Linked DNA regions of Homo sapiens: all the other regions are linked to region 6. The links are contacts of gene promoters, found by promoter capture Hi-C in blood cells and fetal thymus (Javierre and others, 2016). All regions are on one chromosome and are shown on one strand. Each heading gives the region's core, a stretch centred on a gene start or on the middle of the fragment in contact. The rest is flanking DNA. Distances are from core to core; before and after follow the strand shown.

Region 1 (3,030 bases), core at 178-2,677, 300 kb before region 6:
CGCCCGTCTCGGCCTCCCAAAGTGCTGGGATGACAGACGTGAGCCACCGCGCCCGGCCACCATCACCATTTTCAAAATAATGAACGTATTTGTCACCCCTAAATTTCCCCTGCCCATTCGTAATTCCTCCTTTTCATGTTTCCCCATCTCCAGCCATCACTGATCTGCTTTCTGCCACTGTAGTTTACATTGTCCACAATTGTAGATCAGTTGAATCATGTTCATTTTTGTCTGTTTTTCTTTACTCAGCATAATTATTTTGAGACTTATCTACGTTGGTGTGTGTATCAATTCGTTCCAAAGTATTTATCCATTCACTGTTGAAAGCTTCTATGAACATTCTTAACTGTTTCTGTGGACATATGCTTTCATTTATGTCTTGTGTAAATACCTAGGAGTTGAATGGATGTGTTCTGTGGTAGGTGTATGCTTAATTTTTAAAGGAACTGCCAGCTGTTTTCTGAAATGATTGTACCACGTTCCCTTCCCCTCCAGCCCTACGTGAGAGTTCCACTTGCTCCCGCATTGTCACTAGCACTTAGTGTGGCCAGTCTTTTCAATTTTAGCCATTCTAGTGGGTTCATAGTGGTATTTCTTTGTGGCTTTGATTTGCATTTTACTCATAATGTCGAGCATCTTTTCATGTGTTTATTTGCCAGTTTTTGTGACATTGGGCATCTTTGTCAAATCCAGGTATTTTTCCTGTTTTTTTCCCCCTGGAAATGTTATAGCATTAGTTTTTACTTTTCACTCTGTGATGCATTTAAAATTAATTTTTTCTACATTACAAGAAGTAAGGGCCTCAATTATTACTATCGTTCATACTTGCATATGGCTATTAAATTATTTCAGCAATATCTATTGAAAAGATTGTTCTTTACCCAACGAATTTGTATTGGCACCATTGTCAAATTCAATTGATTACATATGTGTGGATCAATTTCTGGAATCTCTATTGGTCAATTTTTTTCCCCTTCCATCAATACCATACTGTCTTTATTACTATAGCTTTTCTGAGCTTCATTTTTTCATATATAAATTTTAGCATCTTCAAATCAGTATAAGTCTTCTAATCTTGTGTTGGGTTTTTCCCCCCCAAAGTTGTTTCAGCTATTCTGTCTTTACATTTCTATAAAAATTTTAAAATCAGCTTATCAACTTCTACAAAAAACATGCTGGGATTTCAGCCGAACAGCATTGAGTCCTTTGATTTATGAACATAGCCTGTATCTCCATTCATTTAGCTTTGTTTTCATTTCTCTCACCTTAGTAGTAGTTTTAGTGAGCAGGTCCTGCACATTTTTATAGATATAATCTCATACATTCGTTTGCTCCTCTTTTATCAATTCCAATCAAAATAAGATTTGTTTGAATTGAAAATAAGTTACCTTCTTTACTGCCTTTCTGTTTTTGCACAAACTCTGACAAAAAGTTAGAGTATCTGACTTTTTATATATATATATTTCTATATAATATATATATTTATCTATAATATATAATATTTATATATAAATATATATATTTATCTATAATGTATAATATTTATATATAAGATATATATTTATATATAATATATAATATTTATATATAATATTTCTGATGATGCTGTAAATGGTATTGTTTTTTATTTTAATTTGTTTTTATGCTAGTATAAAGAAACACAATTGATTTTTGTATATTGATTTTGTGTCCTGCATCCTTGCTGAACTAATTTATTAATTCTCACAAACATTAGGGTTTTTTATGAAATTTATTATGGATTTTCTATTACAGGATTATGCCATCTATAAGTAAAGATAAATTAACTTCTTCCTTTTCAATCTGGATACCTTTTATTTCTTTTTCTTTCCTTATTGCTCCATCTAGAACCTTTAGTACAATGTTGAATAGAAGTGGTAGACTGGTCATCTTTGCCTTTTCCTGATGTCAGGGGGAAAGCATTCAGTCTTTCACCATTAAGTCTAACATTAAGTGTAGGTTTTGTATAGCTATCCTTTATCAAGTTGAGGAAAATTTCTTCTACTCCTGGTTTTCTGAGAGTTTATATTAGGAAAAAGTGTTGGATTTTGTCAAATGCTTTTCCTGTATCTATTGAGACGATCGTATGATTTTTATTTTTCCATTAACATGTTGAATTACATTGATTAATTTTAGATTATTAAACCGAAATAAAATAAATAACGCAAACTAAACCTCACAGTCCTGGGTTGAATGTCACTATGTTATGCTGTGTTATCCTTTTTATACATTGCTGGAGTTTATTTGCTAAAAATTTTTAAAGGAATTTTTGTGTCTATATTCATAAAAGATATTGGTCTGTGGTTTTTCCCAGTAAAGTCTTGGTTTGGTTTTGGTATTGGGGTACTGAGTGGAAAGTATTACCATTATTTTAATTTTTTGAAAGAGCTTGTGTTAACTTTTATTATTTTTTTTAATTAAACATTCAGTATAATTTACCAGCAGAGCCATCTAGGCCTGGAGGTTTGTTTTTTGGTTTGTTTGTTTTGTTTTGTTGTGGGAAGCTTTTATACTGCAAATTCAATTTTTAAAATAAATTTAGGACTATTCAGGTTATTTACTTTTTCTTGAGTAAAATTTAATAGTTTTCATCTTTCAAGAAACTTTTTCATTCATAAAGTTGTTCATATTTTCTTATTATCCTTTTAATACCTGCAGAATCTGTAGTGGTGTCACCTCTCTCATTCCTAATATTCGTGTTTTACTTCCTTTGTCCTGACCTGACTAGAAGTTTATCAACTTTATTGATGTTCCCAAAGAAACAGCTTTTGGTTTCATTGATTTTCTATATTTTTCTTCTGTTTCCAGTTTTATTTATTTCTGTTCTTATCTTTATTATTTCCTTTTTTCTGCTTATTTGAGTTTAATTTGCTGGGTTTTTTTCTTGTTTCTTAAGGTAGAAGCTGAGGTCCTTAATTTGAAGTATTCTTTTATAACGCATGCATTTAGTGCTAAATATTTTTTTCTAAGTACTCCTTTAGCTGTATTTCACACATTTTGATCTGTTGTGTT
Region 2 (2,700 bases), core at 113-2,612, 380 kb before region 6:
AGGTAACAAATTATAGCAGAGCAATACAACACATTCATTCATTGTTATTGAAAGGACAACTGCGGACAGGGTAGGACATTGGTGAGAACCAAGTGCAATACTGGTGCATCCAGTATCCAGATGAAACTCAAAAACATCTTGCCAAGTGAAAGAAACCAGACACAAATGACTACATATGGTAGGATTCCATTTGTGTGAAATTTCTAGAAAAAGCTGAACTGTAGAGACAGAGGTCAGTGGTGGCCTCGGTCACGCGCGGGACCCAGGATTAACTGCAGACAAGCCTGAGGAAACTTTTCTGGGTGATGGAAGTGTTTTAAAACTGGATTTTGGTGATGGTTGCACAATGTAAAAATTGACTAAAACTCCCTGAACTTTACTCTTAAAATGGATTAATTTATGGTGTGTCAATTTTATTGCTATAAACTGTTAAAAGGAAATTCGAAATGAATTGAAACTGAAAACTCAGATCTGCTGATCTTTATTCTGGTTCTTACTTTTAAAGGAAAAAAAAAACCATATGATTTTTGTAAAAGTAACACACAGTCATTGTCGGGAGACAGTTCTCCGCGGGCTTCTTGTGTTTCGGCACATGTTGCAAGCGAAGATCTGGCTCTCCGTTGTTCCAGCCTGTTTCTGCAGGACTGTTCATATAGTGAACAGCCTTTGAAGACAGAGTAAGTGTCTCCAGCCACAGCAAAAGGCAGACACGCTTACTATCCAGTGTAACAAGAATATCTCCCTCTGAAGCAAAGGGCAGGTATGCTGAATGCTCATGATGAAATATTCAGGTGCTCTAAAGTCAAGATTCTTCTTCTGTAATGCAGCCCACTGTGACTGCAGGTGTCACCTGGTCTTCATCACGTTGTCCTTTGGGAACATGGGGATTGGGGGCTGGCAAACCAGTGAAGAATATGCTGACACTTGGCCACTGCTCTTGCTGTCAGGAGTAAAGCTCTTTGTCTTCTTGTGTCTTCTGTCAACACTCATGAAACTGTAGCAGGATCACTTTTTAGTTTGCAAGTAGGGTAAAATCTCTGACTCCTGCGTTCCTTTTTTTAAAAAATTGTGGTAAAATATACACAACATTAAATTTACCATTTTAGCCATTTTAGGGATACAGTTCAGTGGCAGTAAGTACATTTACACTGTTGTATAACTATCGCCATTACACATCTCTACAGCTTTTTAAAAATTAATTAATTTTTTTTTGAGATGGAGTCTCGTACGGCCCCCTGGCCTAGAGTGCAGTGGCTCGATGGCTCACTGCAACCTCCGCCTGCTGGGTTCAAGCGATTCTCCTGCCTCAGCCTCCCAAGTAGCTGGGATTACAGGTGCCTGCCACCATACCCAGCTAATTTTTTTGTATTTTTAGTAAAAGCAGGGTTTCACCATGTTGGCCAGGCTGGTCTCAAACTCCTGACCTTGTGACTCGCCCACCTCGGTCTCCCAAAGTGTTGGGATTACAGGTGTGAGCCACCGCGCCCGGCTCACATTGCTCTAGAGCTTTTTAATCATCCCATGTTGAAACTCTACCCATTAAGCTATACTCCTCATTACCCCCTTTCCCCAGCCCCTGGCAACCACTGTTCTGCTTTCTCTATAAACTCGACTACTCTAGGTACCTCATATAAGTGGAATCATACACTATTTGTCCTTGTGTGACTGGCTTATTTCACTTTGCATAATGTCTTCAGGGTTCATCCATGTTGTAGTGTGTGTCAGGATTTCACTCCTTTTTAAGGCTGAATAATATTCCATTGTATGTATATACCTTCACAGTTCTTGATGCTAATTATATCTTAAAATCAAGTAAAAAAAATACAAACAAGAAAGTTAAAAAAAAACAAAAGAAAGAGAAAGCATCTCATCATTTGGAAGTCATTATCATACCAGATATCTATTTATGAATAGACAGAAAAACAGGTAGAGACAAAAAATGTTAGAAAATGGGCTTTGGGGTCTTGCTTTCTAATACTCACCTCCAGTTCCCTGGCCTGGACTATGCGTGCAGGCAGCTTTCTGGCTTAGGGGCTTGTCCCTCTCCCAGAATCTACCCACCAGCTCCTGAGCCTCACACGCAGGTTAAGAGGGGCTCACAGCAGTTGTCCTCCCCGCAGCTGAACAGCTGATCCCTGGCCACACTGACTCCTAGCCCTTGTTTTTTCCCATCTCTAAGGAGTCCCTATGTCCTGAGGAGTTGTCCTTTGCCACATTTCCCAGTTTTCCTCATTCAGTAATTCTTTATTAAATGCCTGTTGTGGGTCAGGAGCTTTGCTGGGTACTGGGAGCACCTAGCCATAGAGATCCCGCTCCTACCAGTGAGTACTCATTGTGCAGAGACAGAAAAGTAAACACGTAAATACCACACGAAAAACTTCCCATCCTAGTGGAAGTAGGGAAGTCTCCCGGAAGGAGATGGCACGGGGTGTTGAAGGAGCGGGGTGAAGGAAGTGAGGAAGTGTGCGCGTGTTGGCAGGGCTGAGAGGAGCACCAGGTGTGAGGGAACCGGGGTGCTGGAGTCCTGGAGTTTGAGGGCTTGCAAGGAATTACCCGTGGTTGAAACTCAGGAGGCAGGCAGGGGAATGGAGAGGGGCGGAGCTGGAGAATTATGGAGGCTCATAGGGTGAAGATGCCCTCGTGCCATGCTGAGGAGGCCACCTGGGGAAGAATAGGCAGTGAGGAGCCATTGGAAGGTTT
Region 3 (2,796 bases), core at 145-2,644, 350 kb before region 6:
CTTTTCTTAGAAATTGACCATTTTATCATATGAAATATTCCTCTTTGTCTCTAATAATATTTCTTGATGTAAAGTATATTATGTTTTATATTACTATAGCTTACCATTTGCATGGTATATATTTTTTATCCTTTTACTAACAAATGTGTCTTTAAATTTAGGGTGTGCCTCTTGTGGCAGCATATAAGTGGATTAGTTGAATCTGTATTTTTCCATTCAGTCTGACAGCCTCTGCCTGTTCCTTGGAGTTTTTTATTCCATTTACGTTTGCTAAAATTACTGATATGGTTGTATTTATGTCTGCCACTTTTTAAAGTATATCTCATTATCTCTTTAATTACTCCTTTATTGCCTTATTTTGTATTAAATGGACCTTTTTAGTGTATTGTTTTAATTCTTTTGTTTCTTGACTATATTCTTTGAGCTATTTTCCTAGGGATTGCCTTAGGAATTACAATATACATATTAACTTATTTCTATCTACTTCAGATAATATATACTCACTGAATACCAGTAAACATAGAAACTTTCCTCTAATATAGCTTCATTTCCTTCTCCCTCCTTTGCACTGTTGTCAAGTATATTACAACTATGAATGTTGTAAACCCAACAACACAATGCAATAAGTATTTTATACAATATTATATCTTTTAAAGAATTTAAGAGAAGCCTGGGTGCAGTGGCTTACATGTGCAATTCCAGCACTTTCAGAGGCCGAGGTGGGTGACTCACTTGAGCTCAAGAGTTTGAGACCAGCCTGGGCAGCATGGTGAAATCCCAGTTCTACAAAAAATACAGAAATTAGCTGGGCATGGTGATGTGTGCCTGTAGTCCCAACTACTTGAGAGGCTGAGGTGGGAGGATGGCTTGAGCCCGGGAGATCGAGGTTATAGTTATGACCACGCCATTGCACTCCAGCCTGGGTGACAGAGCAAGACTCTGTCTCAAAAAAAAAAAAAAGAATTTAATAGAATATATATGTAAAAATTTACATACATATATGTGTATAAGCTTATATACGTATAAATTTATATACATATGTGTGTATAAACTTATATACATATATGTGCATGTACATGTGTGTATGTGTGTATGTACACACACTGTCTTTTGTATTTACCCAATTATTTACTGTCTGGTTGTTCTCCATCTTTTCGTGTGGGTTTAAATTACAATTAAATTACCTTTAGTCTTTTTTTCTTTTTTTTTTTGAGACGGAGTCTCACTCTGTCGCCAGGGCTGGAGTGCAGTGTGGCACGATCTTGGCTCACTGCAAGCTCTGCCTCCCAGGTTCAAGCAATTCTCCTGCCTCAGCCTCCTGAGTAGCTGGGATTACAGGAGTGCACCACCATGCCCGGCTAATTTTTGTATTTTTAGTAGAGGCAGGGTTCCACCATGTTGGACAGGCTGGTCTCAAACTCCTGACCTCAAGTGATGCACCCCCTTCAGCCTCCCAAAGTGCTAGGATTACAGGCATGAGCCACTGCGCCCGGCCAGATATAGAATTCTTGATTAACATTGTTTTTCAGCACTTAAATATGTCATGTCGGTGCCATTTTTCCTGATGAGAAGTCTACCATTAACAGTATTATTGTTCCCCTGTGTGTAAAGAATCATTTTACTCTTGATGCTTTCAAGGTTTCTCTCTGGCTTTGACTTTCAACAGTTTGACTTCGATATTTCCAGGTCTAAGTATCTTTTTCTGTGTTATTCTACTTGGGTTTTTTGAGCATCTTGGATCCATAGATTAATATTTTCATCAAATTTTGGAAGCTTTAGTCTATTATTTCTTCAAATATATTTTCCTGCCCTTTCTCTCTCTCTTCCCTTTCTGGCACTGCCATTACTCATATGTTAGTATGTTTGACATTGTCTCACACGTTTCTGAGGCTCTTTTAATTTTTCTTTATTCTTTTATCTCTCTTTGCTTTAGAATGGGTAATTTCTATTTTCAACTTTATTGATTATTTCTTCCCTTATCTAACATCTGCTGTTGAGTCCCTCTAAGAAATTTTCATTTGTTATCGTACTTTTTAACTCCAGAGTGTCCTTTGATTTTATTTTATAATTTATATTTCTTTGTTGACATTCTCTATTTGTTGAGTCACTGTTGTAATACATTCCTTTAACTCTTTAAACATGGTTTCCTTCAGTTTTTGAACATATTTATAATTGCTGCTTTGAAGTCTTTGTCTGCTAAACCCAACATCAAGGACAACCCAGAGACAATTTTTGCTTACTACTATTTTCCCATTGGTGTGGGTTACATTTTCCTATTTCTTGGCATGTCTCATAACTTTTATTGTTGTTAAAAATGGGACATGTCAGATAATATATTGTTACAATTCTGAATTCTGAATTTTCCTCAGAGTGTGTTGTTGCTGTATTTTGGTTTTGTTTTTTGTTTTTTGGGTTTTTTTGTTTTTGTTTTTGTTTTTGTTTTCAGCTGGAGTCTCACTCTGTTGCCCAGTCTGGAGTGCAGTGGTGTGATCTCAGTTTTGTTTAATAATAATTTGGCTGGACATGCTTGTAGAATCTCCTTAACTGCTGTGTGGCTGCAGGTGTCTCTGCTCAGCTTTGTTTTGTTTTTTAAATTCTTGTTCTCATTTTTAAGCCGGAATTCCTAGGAATCACACTGTGTTTGCATAGATTAATGGTGGTCAGACATTGTGCCCAAACAGCTCAAGACAGTAAATCTTCCACCCTCTGGCAGTAGATCTGAGTGTGTGTTAGGGAGCACAGCTAAAGTGTGCAGGTAATTTTTTTTTTTTTGAGACGGAGTCTCACTCTGTCACC
Region 4 (2,898 bases), core at 249-2,748, 340 kb before region 6:
TACTGCACTCCAGCCTGAGCAATAGAGTGTGACCCTGTCTCAAAAAAAAAAAAAAGAGAGAGAACGAAAAATGATTCACTGGAGTGCTAATTGACTTTGCACCACTGGTACAGAGCATGAAATCTTCAATAAGCAGCCTTTCCCTTGAAGACCTGGGAACCCGCAGCCCAAGCAACAACCAAGATTGTTGGTGATAACATTGCTGGCATTTATACCTTTTTGGTATCCAATTGCAGCTTCCTGGGCCTGACACTGAGGAGAAGTACAAAGGGAATATTGAGAATGCCCTTCCTGAATATCAGCAGGTTTATTAAAGGAGTAAATTTGTGATGATGCTTCATATAATCACACTGCCTCCACTCATAGCAGTTATGTCCTTAGCCACATCTTTCAAAGGCACGTGTGGCGGGCCTGTCTCCGGCAGAGCCCTTTCCAAAGAGGGTTTGGCTGGACACCAACCAACCAGTTTCCACTGGACACCTTCACTCATGGGAGTTCCTGAGGCCTAACAAATGATACAAGCACTCAGCAGCCGCTCTCCAACCAATCCCACATTACTAACCAAATCTATTCATGTGGAACCTAGAGGTTACCAGAGAGCACTGAATAAGGGCACACACATCCCTCATTAAAGTCAGGTGCAGAGACAGGATGCAGTACCGTCCTATTCCCAACTCGCTCTGACAGCAGCAGGGAGCCTGTCTAAGCACTGGCCTCGGTAGAAAAGTTAGTTACAGGCCGGGCGTGGTGGCCCACGCCTGTAATCCCAGCACTTTGGGAGGCCGAGTCGGGCGGATGACCTGAGGTCGGGAGTCCGAGACCAGCCTAACCAACATGGAGAGACCCTGTCTCTACTAAAAATACAAAATTAGCCGGGTGTGGTGGAGCATGCCTGTAATCCCAGCTACTGGGGAGGCTGAGGCAGGAGAATCGATGGAACGCGGAAGGCGGAGGTTGCGGTGAGCTGAGATCACGCCACTGCACTCCAGGCAGCCTGGGCAACAAGAGCGAAACTCTGTCTCAAAAAAAAAAAAAAAAAAAAAAAAAAAAAGAAGAAAGAAAAGTTAGTTGCAGAGGATGCTGCTGCACCCCTACCGTGAAGCTGGCCATCCTGCAGGAGGACTCTGTCGACATAGAAGGGAAAATACATATGTAGTGAAAAAAATTAAAGTTTTAAAATTTAATAGGGTACATTTATGTAATAACTTGTATAATAAGAGTCTTTCTGTTTAAAGGGGGAAGAAAAAAGCATTTATGTTTGTTTTTGTTTTATTTGCATAATGAAATTCTGGAAGGATATGGAAGAACCCAAGAAAAGCTATTGACCCTGAGGGGGAGCCTTGTCAAAGGGACAAAAGTTCTAGGAAGTTACCAGGAAGGGTTCACTGTGCACCCTTAGTTCTTTCTGGTTCTTGAACCATGTAAACGTATTACCTAGTCAGATTTTAAACATTATGTGAAATAGTGGAGAAGGAAAAAGTTTTCTTTAAAAGGAGAGAATAGTGTTAATTGTATACTTTTTATTATTATTATAATACTTTAAGTTCTAGGGTACATGTGCACAACGTGCAGGTTTGTTACATATGTATACATGTGCCATGTTGGTGTACTGCACCCATCAACTCGTCATTTACATTAGGTATATCTCCCAATGCTATCCCTCCCCCTCCCCTCACCTCATGACAGGCATACTTTTTAAAGAGCAGGATTCATTTGGGTTTCTGGCCTGAAGCCTAGATTGAATTTGTCCATGGAAATCTTGATTGTAGCCTGCAGGAAGATCAGGAAAACTCATTGGAGCAATGTGTTGGTATCAGTGTGTACCTGTCATTCACTCACTCGGCACTCATGTTTTCATATCTATATGTTGGACACTGGACTAGATCCTCAAGCAAAGCATTTATAATACATGTTTAAAATTCTTCAGTTTCAGCCAGGCGCGAGGGCTCACGCCTGTAATCCCAGCTCTTTAGGAGGCCGAGTCGGGCGGATTACCTGAGGTCCAGAGTTCGAGACCAGCCTGGCCAACATGGTGAAACTCCATCTGTACTAAAAGTACAAAAATTAGCCGGGTGTGGTGGCAGGAACCTGTAGTACCAGCTACACAGGAGGCTGAGGCAGGAGAATTGCTTGAATCTGGGAGGTGGAAGTTGCAGTGAGTGAGATCGCACCACTGCGCTACAGCCTGGGGGACAGAGCAAGACCCTGTCTCAAAAAAAAAAAAAAAAAAAATTATTCAGTTTCACCCAAAGGTCGTTGTCAAATAGATACTTAAAGAAATGTGTCATTAAGCCCATTATAATAATTCAAAACCTAGGAATAAAATAGTTACAAAGGCAGAGATTCAGAAAACTCTTCTATTCTCACAAATTATGAGGGTTTGTAAATTTCATAATAGAATCATGCATTGAGTTTATTTTCAAGATTAGAATTATTAATCACATATTCAAATTTAGCAGTTACTACCATATTATCATAGAAAAAACAGCTTATATTTAAAATGGTTAACACAAATTATTTACAATTTACAACAGTTTTCCAACATAAGGATTTGGAGTTTTACTTTGGATTTTTCTTATTTACTTAATTCCAAAATCTATCCCAATGGGATCTCTCTCTCTCTCTCAATCTCTCTCAGATAGTTTTTAAAGTGGGTCTAGAGTGATTTACTCAAAACAGGTTGGATTATAAGCAGCAATCTCATTTGTGGTGAGATTCAGTATATTAAAGATCATCTTTGGCCGGGCGTGGTGGTTCATGCCTGTAATCCCAGCACTTTGGGGGCCGAAGCAGGCAGATCACCTGAGGTCAGGAGTTTGAGACCAGCCTGGCCAACATGGTGAAAGCCCATGTCTACTAAAAATACAAAAAGTAGCTGGACGTGGTGGCACGCTCCTA
Region 5 (2,784 bases), core at 270-2,769, 420 kb before region 6:
GATAGGCCTGGGCAACAAAGTGATACTCTGTCCCTACAAAAAATTTAAAAAATTAGCCAGGTGTGGTGGCACATGCCTGTGGTCCCAGCTACTATTTGGGAGGCTGGGGTGGAAGGATCATTTGAGCCTGGGAGGTCGAGGCTGGTGAACCGTAATGGTGCCCCTAACCTCAGCCTGGGTGACAAAACGAGACACTGTCTCAAAAAATCAAATCAAATCAAATCAGAATCAGTCAATTGTATCATGCTACTTCTACAGTTAACCCAAAAATATACTATATTTAAACATTTTTGAAGTTTAGTCCGAGTTCTCTAAGAAGCTGATACCAAGACAGAATGAAACACCCAAGGATTTTATTAGGGGAAATGCCTGTGAGAAAGAATAGGGAGTTAGTTAGCCTGATAACTAGAAGAGCCATCACCATCTGATGGTGACACCCAAGAGAAGGAAACAGAAGGCAAGTTGATGGAAGAGAACAAAAAACAATTCACTAACTGGTCCCAATCAAAATATGTTAGAGCAGATATAGGCTCAATGTAGTAATACTATATTTTAAATTTTTTTCATACTTCATTTAAAAACAGTGGTACATTTGTATACGTATATGGTACCTATAAAAACTACACATACAGTATCAGCTGAAAAGTGAGGCAAAGTTGCATCAAAATAATCAATCTGAAGGGAACTCTGGCCCCCAAAGAAATTACCACCCTCTCTCCTTCCCTTCTGAAATAAGTATCTTGGCTTCCTCCACCTTCTCACTTCCCACTCACTTTTCAACCCACCACAATCTGGCTTTCTGTTCTCTACTGCAACTGCTTTAATTGCCAAATCTGGTCTAAATCTTCTTGGATCAGTCTACTGCATCACACTATTTTATCCCTCTTTTCTTTGGAGAGACAGCCACTGTTAGCCTGGTGCTCCATAACAGTAGAAATGAACTTTCCCAGGTGGAAAGGGTCCCAACCTTGAAGAACTTACGCTCTAATCAGGAAGACTGCTAAGCATTATATTGGAAAGACTGATTATGTAAAATGGTGTATTTGACTTACTCTAGCTCAGTTCTCCTATTTCTAAGATTTCCTCCTCCATTTTCCTCTTAGATGTTTATCTCCGTTTAAATATTCATGTTTCCCAGTATTCTAGCAGCACATGGTTTAAAGTTCTTTTCAGTCTTCATTCCTTGGATGATCTCATCAACTTTCACTGTTATGACAATGCCTGCACCTCCTAAATCCGAACCTCCAGGCCTGACCTTTCCTTGGAGCCTTGGACTCAAACATCCAAATGCCTGTGAAAGGCACCCATCTGGATATGCCACAGACACTCATAATCAACATGCTGAAAACTCAATTATCTCTCCCCTCCTGAACTTTACCATCTTTGTTTCCAATCATCTACCCAGCAGCCAGAAACCTAGGAGTCACCCTCCCCAATCCCTCTCCCTGATGAACCAAGCCCTGCCTCTGAGAAATATTTCTCAGAGTTGCTCATCTTCCTCATTCCTCTGTCATCACCCTAAACTGGATCCTCATTATCTCTTGTGTAAAATATCTCTATGGCCTCTTCACTATCCCCTTGCCTCTCGGCTCTCTCAAAACTACCCTTAGTTTTCTAGGCAGGGCTGTCTAAAACATGAATATGACCTCATCATTCCACTTTTTAAAATCTTCTTTGGCTCTCCACTTTCTAAAGGATAAAGTACCAAGTTCCTAAACATGGTGCATGAGTCTTCCTTTCCCTACTCTAGAATGACCTTTCCAGCCTCCTCTCTAGCCATTCCCTGCTTTGTACTTTTCCTTTAGCAACACCAAACTGCAAATGTCCCCAAGGTACCATGCCACATCTTATCTTGTATATCTTTGTTCCTGCTATTTTTCCAGCCCCAGTTGCCCTGATCTACTTCTCTGCCTTAGGAACAGAGAGAGAATTAAAGATCTACTCAACTTACAGCTACTACCATTTATTAAGTGACTCATGTGCTAGAAACATTATGTACATTAAATGAAACATGCCCACCTGCCAAATGAAGAAACTGAAGGTCAAAGATATTAAATAATCTTGCCCAAGGTCACCTAGTGGCAGAGCTAGGATTCAAATCCCATTTGTTACAGGTTGTTTCTCCTTGTATATTTTCTACTTCCTACTAAATACTCTTCTAATTATTTTGAGTTCAGCACAAAATTTTTTAAAACTTGCAATGCCACCAATATAATTCAACACTGATTTCTGAGCACCTACAATCCTCTAAATTCAAATCCTAGACAAACTGAGTTTTCAAATCAAGTCAATCTACACCAGAAAAACCAAGGTACAGAATAGAGTTGCAGTGAGTAAATGAAATGTGAGTGGCACTCCCTGGAACTGTGCAGTGTAGTAGCCCTGGTTGGGTTTAGTCAGGTGGCAACTATCAGTTATGGCTTTCCTTTGAAACTTTGATCTAGGACTGTCCAATTTATTAATGTTTAACCAAGAAGCATTCAAAAACAACAACAAACAAAAACACAAAAAACTAATCCAACCCTTACAGACAGAAAATAGCCATACAGAACACAGCACAAAATGAATGTAATAACCCTCAATAGCAGTAAAAACACTTCTTCCTTCCTCTGCAACACTGTTACTCTGATATTGCTATAAATTTCTAATACAAAGTGAACTACAGGATATAAGTAGTACTCAGAGGTTACATCAAAGGCAGGCATGTAGGAATTGATACAGCAGTCCCTCCTTATCTGAGGGGGATATATTCCAAGACCCCAGTGGATGCCTGAAACCAGGGAT
Region 6 (2,914 bases), core at 8-2,507:
TTAGATTCAGCTGCCTTATGTTACAAACAAACATTGAAAGGGAGAAAACAGAAGTGGGAGTGGGAGCTTTGTTCATCCTCTCCTACGCCCCCGCGACCCCACACTCCCGAGGCGCGCGCATCCTCCCCACTCACTCGGGCAGCACCCACTCCCTAAATAGCCCAGCGTGGCCGGTGCCCCGCGAGCGCTCGGAGCGCTTTTCCGCTGCGGGCTTTTCACCGGATCTGGAAGGGATTTACCGGAGGGACTGGAGCCCAGCGCAGCAACCCCACCCCACCCCCACCGCCCCGGCCCGGGCGCGCCCCGCCCGCTCCCCGGCTCCAGGACTTACACCAGCGCCGACGGACAGGGCATCTGGTTCCAGGCACAGTTGTACTGAGCCTGAATAAAACTCTCACTTCCCTCCAGCACGGAGCAGCTCACATTCTTGTTCACGATGTAGGCGCACCAGTTCCTGGGGTGCAGGAGAGAGAGGGAGAGGGGCACGGGGTAAACCCGGAGAACAATGAGGCCAGGGGAGAGGGGACTGCGGCACCAGACCGAGCGAGGGTCGGGGGGGCCCGTCGCCCTCTGCGGAGGCGGGAGCTTCACCGAGCAGACGCCGGAGGGTGCCCGGGTGCGCCTCTGGAGAGCGCGCGCCTGGACCCGACCAAGACGGGAAAGAAAAGCACCCATGGTCCCAGGGGCTCATGGAATTCCTGGGAGTCGTTTTCGGATCGCCCGGGTCTGCGGGACGCTCTCTGCGCCCACGCCCCCGGAGTCAGCTCTGCCTGAGGCGCCGGCTGCGGAGCGCGCGGTCCCCCGCAGAGGGAGCCGCCCGGGGAAGTCCAAGGGAGGCCCCCGGCTGCCGCTCGTCGTCTTTGGCAGGGCAGCTCTGGGGCTCAACTGGGGGCCGGGGAGGGGTAGGCGGTTTGGGGCCAGCCAAGGGGCGCGCACTTACTTGTTCCTGGCGCTGGGCCGCGCGGGATACCCGGGCTGCGGGCCGGCGTGGCACAGCCCCGCGCCAACCAGGGCCAGCAGCGCCAGCGCCCAGCGCCAGGGCACGCGGGGCCAGGGCCGTCTGGGCTGCCACATCCCGCGCGCAGCGGGCGCGCCCCGCCTGCCCGGGTCCGGAGCGCGGCGGATCGGGGCACCGGCCACAAGGCTGCCGGCGGCCAGGGCGCCGCCCGCGAAGGCAAGAGGCTCGGGCGCTTCGCGGCGCTCCAACCAGTGCTCCGCGGCCGCCCCCTCCGGCTTCTCGTTCCTACTTCTCCTTCTGCAGCCCCGTGCGCCCTGCGCTTCTCCCCGGTCCCTCAATGACGCACAGGTCCCCCCGGGTGCCGCCCTCTTTATTTCACTTCCCTCTCCGAAACGTGACTCTCCCCCCACCAAGTCTCCCCGTCTCCAGTCCCTTCGCTTCTCGGCAGGGGGCTCGGGGTGGAGGGGCGAAAGGGTTTGGGATAAGGGTCTACGTTACAGCATTTCCAATGACTCATTCCTTTGGTCTCTTCCCAGATGCCGAGCGACTCCGCCTCCCACCTTCCGACAGGCTCGCTCCCGGCCCCCCGGGACGCGGCCGCCGTCGGCGAGTCTGGCCGTCCTCGCGTCGTGCCTGGGTGCCAGCCTCCCGGGGCGAATGAGGGACATGTTTATCAGTCCCGCGGGGAGAGGAGTGGGGGCTCGACTCGAATTTCCTCCTCGGGCAAGACAGGGCCGTTCCCCCACCAGCTCCATGGACCTAGAGAGTCCAGGAGGAAACGAACGCTGGTTCTTTCTTTGCCCAACTCTGCCTTAGGCACCATCTGACAGTTTCCGAGGCCACGCGGGGGGCGGCAGGACAGGACAAGCCACAGCCCCGCCAATTCCCAGAGGCTGCTGCAGCTCAGCGTCCGGCTCTATCACTTACTGCAATTCTCCTCCAATTCTTGAAAGGTGATCTCACAGCCTCTGCTTCTGAGGTCCCACTGTGAACTTTCTTTTTCTATTGAAACTAAGGCATTTACTCACGTTTGCTTCTTAACAGTTCAGGCACTGCTAGACATCCGTCTTAAACTTTCTTGTATGTTTTCTGCCTGTTGTTGAGTTACACTAATCTCTACCGATGTCTTTTTGGGATGAAGTACCAGAATGTTAAGTAAAATCACCACCCAAGTGTTGTATTCTAAGGGGTGTTGGAGAGAGCTGTGTGTTTGAGATGACCTGCTGCATCTAATCAATGTACAGGGTCGTGAGTGGCGTGGTTACCAGACTCCACAGATAAAACTGTGGCCTCTGTGAGCTAACCAGACGCTGTTGGCCATGACTCGTTAAGTGAATAAAGCTTTGCTATGGGCCAGGCGGGGTGGCTCACGCCTGTAATCCCAGCACTTTGGGAGGTCGAGGCGGGTGGATCACCTGACGTCGGGAGTTCAAGACCAGCCTGACCAACATGGAGAAACCCCGTCTCTACTAAAAGTACAAAAAAAAAAAAAAAATTTGCCGGGCACGGTGGCACATGCCTGTAATCCCAGCTACTTGGGAGGCTGAGGCAGGAGAATCGCTTGAACCAGAGAGATGGAGGTTGCAGTGAGCCGGGATCTCACCACTGCACTCCAGCCTGGGCAAAAAGAGTGAAAATCTGTCGCAAAAAATAAAAAATAAAAACGTTTGCTATGTTCCTACTTTACTAAATGAAGCCATTGGTCTATTTTGTTTCTAATATTCTTTGATGGTGTTGTTGGACCTTTTGATTTGCAGATGAAAGAAAGAGAAGTCCCTAAGTAGAAACTACAAGGGCCAAGCAGAACATTATACCATGTAAGGACATCATCTGTCCCTGGACTCTTAAGCGGAAGATCATGCAAATAGTGGACTGAAGTCATCCCAGCCTTCAAAAGAGCCACCGTGGGGGGGAAATAACAGAAAGGGATAAAAAGCTGTCTTTCGTAACCCAATC
Region 7 (2,811 bases), core at 118-2,617, 400 kb before region 6:
AACCAAATCTGCTGATTTGATAACAATAAAAAACCAAGAAGCAAAAAAAATTAGGTACTTAGGAAACTCCCAAGTTCTATACTTCAGCAGTATAGGGGTGCTGAGGGATACTAATTCATCTTCAGTAGGTCCCTGCTTTGCAGCCTTAGCCTAAACTGGCTATTCCATAGTACGGTGGACAGAAAGGTGAAGAATAGTAAGAATGACTAACTGATGGAACAGGTCTTCATCTCCTAATCTCTATTGACAAATATTGTTAAAGCTTTCACTTTCAACTAACATTTTTTATTGTACCCTCACCACTAGGCAAAAGTAGTTCAAAAAAACTATTTGTTGAAAGGCTAATAGTAAAGTATAAAAAAACTGAAGGGAATTCATCTATAGTTTTTATAGACATTGCACTCTATCCAAACCAGTTTCTTGCATTACAGTCACACTAAATCACTGGAAGTATCTAAGATCTCTAAACAGAAATCAGAGCACAAGCTTTTAAAATAATTTTAAAAGTTTTAGAAAACATCTTAAACGTAGAAACTACCTTTGCTCTCTTACCTAAATTTATCCCGGTAAAATTTAAGTTAAAATTAAAAAGAATGTCTAATAATACCTAAAATAAAAAGGCAATTTTCAATACTCAATCTGTTAAAAACTACAAAAATTTGTTTCAAGTTAAAAATCTCAGTCATCAGACAATAAAATTCTACCATACCATCCTTCAGAGTTGCAGGGAAGATGGTAGTCTGCAAAACCGCTCAGCAGCAAAAGTAAGACACTGCATTGAGTTATATTCTTCCAAGCAGGTCTAAAATAGGCACTACTGATTTCACTCTGACCAGGATAACAATTTTAAAGCTTACGTTCTGAAAACAACATTTAGCTATGATCTGGCAAAACACTATGCCATTGGTCTAAAAATAAGTCTGTGGACTGCAAAGAATGAACTACCACCTAGATCTCAGCACTCCAAAGTGACCCTAAGAATGTGTTTCCGATGTGTTTAAAAAGTAATTTCTTACATTCTTTCCTTGATTATAACCATATCGTCCAGACTAAATACAATTATGGAATGATTAGAAAAGCTCTGCCTCAAATTTTTTAAAGCTAAATCTGTTTTCAGATTTTAATAGGAAATTCCACAAAGGATAGTCACAAATTCCAGCCCATCCAATACAGCACCGTATGGCAACTGGAATATATTGTTGAAAAGATATATCCTACATAGCACAGAAGTTATGATATATATGCTGTTCCCAAATTTCCTAGAATTCTTTAATCAACTTTTAGGATGCTGCCTTTCATGACTTAAAACTATTCATAAATGCATATTTTCATTCTATAACACCTTTGGGGGTAGTAAATCCCATTCACATCTAAACTACATGAGGATGTACTTTCCTCGTCTGTTATAAATGCTGTCTTTAAAAAATACAAAGAGATATAGAATATATTATTCCTCCAATTCTTAAATGTACGCAAGGACTTGGAGCAAGAGGTTGAAACCCAATGAGTGACACGTTTACCAGTCCATATCGCTTTAATATTTTAGGCATGTCACGCCTTTGCAAGCCAAAGCACATCTTTAAAAATAGTCTGTTTTGTGTGACAACATTGTCTTTCCCTAATGATGCAGAAATGTCAGCTATTTTAAGAACAAAGAAACTGATGAGGTCAAACGGCTGACACATCTGATTTTTTAATCTATTATATAAAATCTCATATAACTAAATTTACGAGGGTCCTCTAGATACATTTTCAAAATGCTTAGTTTTGGTTGTAAAGTAGTATGTTTTCTGAATTCTGATATATTTCCTATTCTTTTAATCACGCACTTTTTTGAATTGTAAATGTATTATAAAATAGATTTTTAAAGTAAAAAAGCTTTTTTTTTTTTTTGGGTCAGCACTGACAATGGCCTCATATAGAGCTCTTCTTCAGCACATTCAATACTTAATCTTATCAATTTTATTATGAAGTTAATTAAACTAATATGTATCAAACGTCATATTAATTATGTTGAATACTAGCTAAGAGTTAAGAAATGTAAGGCATGTGTCCTATCTTCAAGGAGCTTAATATAGTTGGGGAGGCAACTATAAAGAAATGAGATGATTGGTTCAACTTATGAAATGAGTCATAGTTTTCATTCCAGAAGTATGACTCTAAACTTAAAACGTGTGACAATAATGAAAAATAATTCCTAACATGGTACATAATTATCAAATGCTGTGAGTTCAGAAAAGATGTTTCTGAGTAATTAAGGGATTGGGGAGGAGGAAGACCTTGAAAAACCCCGTGTGGGATCATTTAGAAGCTACAAAGCATTGTTAGAATGAAGAGATTCGGCTGTTAGTCTCAATTCTAACAAATTAAGGTAGTTAATTCTATCAAAAACTGGCAGTGTAATGTTGAGGAAGTTACTACCTAGGCCTTTACTTTTTCAAGGAGGCTGGATTCTGATCTATGAGTTATTTTCCACCAGAAACCTTTCAGCGATAGGGAGTTTGGCTGCACAGTCACTGTTCCAAAATACAGAAACTGTGGGGTTTTTTCCCTACCAAACTAAAAGTGTGGGGAGAATAAATAATGGTGGAGGGAGTCAAATCAGGAACAGTGCTATGATCTCAAGGAGCAGATCATTTCTGATATTGTCAGGGTCCTCTTTGCTGATTCTAGTTTGTTGTTCATTTTACTTTCCTTCAAACAATTTAGACTGTCACTCTTCATGTAATAAGCCTTCAGCAAATGCACAACTCTCATCGAAGTTTAGAAAACTAGGGTATACCCCTTAATCTAAAAAAGTTGAAATTGCTT

Evidence for each region. The method cuts DNA at HindIII sites, captures the fragments that hold promoters and counts their contacts. A CHiCAGO score of 5 or more calls a contact.
Region 1: a fragment that was not itself captured here is called in contact with the fragment with the promoter of EMILIN2 in region 6 in 6 of 17 cell types (total CD8 T cells, total CD4 T cells, non-activated CD4 T cells and 3 more); the score reaches 7.2 in total CD8 T cells.
Region 2: a fragment that was not itself captured here is called in contact with the fragment with the promoter of EMILIN2 in region 6 in 2 of 17 cell types (monocytes and activated CD4 T cells); the score reaches 5.7 in monocytes.
Region 3: a fragment that was not itself captured here is called in contact with the fragment with the promoter of EMILIN2 in region 6 in 8 of 17 cell types (total CD8 T cells, activated CD4 T cells, naive CD4 T cells and 5 more); the score reaches 6.7 in total CD8 T cells.
Region 4: a fragment that was not itself captured here is called in contact with the fragment with the promoter of EMILIN2 in region 6 in 6 of 17 cell types (monocytes, activated CD4 T cells, non-activated CD4 T cells and 3 more); the score reaches 7.6 in monocytes.
Region 5: a contact is called between a fragment that was not itself captured here and the fragment with the promoter of EMILIN2 in region 6, in 4 of 17 cell types (monocytes, M1 macrophages, M0 macrophages and 1 more). The highest score is 9.4, in monocytes.
Region 7: a fragment that was not itself captured here is called in contact with the fragment with the promoter of EMILIN2 in region 6 in 5 of 17 cell types (monocytes, M0 macrophages, M2 macrophages and 2 more); the score reaches 13.9 in monocytes.

The regions. Positions count from the first base shown.
Region 1 is chr18:3,145,594-3,148,623 of GRCh38, reverse strand. All of the region lies in intron 13 of MYOM1 (myomesin 1), which reads left to right. Among named protein-coding and RNA genes, the nearest start is that of MYOM1, 73 kb to the left of the region's middle. The HindIII fragment of the contact is 2,195 bases long and covers 330-2,524 here.
Region 2 is chr18:3,226,328-3,229,027 of GRCh38, reverse strand. It overlaps a transcript of MYOM1 not described here. Among named protein-coding and RNA genes, the nearest start is that of MYOM1, 7.7 kb to the right of the region's middle. The HindIII fragment of the contact is 8,579 bases long and covers 1-2,700 here.
Region 3 is chr18:3,199,816-3,202,611 of GRCh38, reverse strand. The region is part of intron 2 of MYOM1 (myomesin 1); the gene reads left to right. Among named protein-coding and RNA genes, the nearest start is that of MYOM1, 19 kb to the left of the region's middle. The HindIII fragment of the contact is 762 bases long and covers 1,014-1,775 here.
Region 4 is chr18:3,181,067-3,183,964 of GRCh38, reverse strand. The region is part of intron 5 of MYOM1 (myomesin 1); the gene reads left to right. Among named protein-coding and RNA genes, the nearest start is that of MYOM1, 37 kb to the left of the region's middle. The HindIII fragment of the contact is 3,663 bases long and covers 1-2,898 here.
Region 5 is chr18:3,268,106-3,270,889 of GRCh38, reverse strand. The region is part of intron 1 of MYL12B (myosin light chain 12B); the gene reads right to left. Among named protein-coding and RNA genes, the nearest start is that of MYL12-AS1, 7.1 kb to the right of the region's middle. The HindIII fragment of the contact is 4,015 bases long and covers 1-2,784 here.
Region 6 is chr18:2,845,349-2,848,262 of GRCh38, reverse strand. It overlaps EMILIN2 (elastin microfibril interfacer 2), which reads right to left and starts at 1,257. Exons shown (of 8, transcript NM_032048.3): 1 at 941-1,257; 2 at 332-454. The coding sequence starts at 1,074. RefSeq lists silencers at 280-369, 990-1,039. The HindIII fragment of the contact is 11,570 bases long and covers 1-2,301 here.
Region 7 is chr18:3,250,224-3,253,034 of GRCh38, reverse strand. The region is part of intron 1 of MYL12A (myosin light chain 12A); the gene reads right to left. Among named protein-coding and RNA genes, the nearest start is that of MYL12A, 3.8 kb to the right of the region's middle. The HindIII fragment of the contact is 1,026 bases long and covers 855-1,880 here.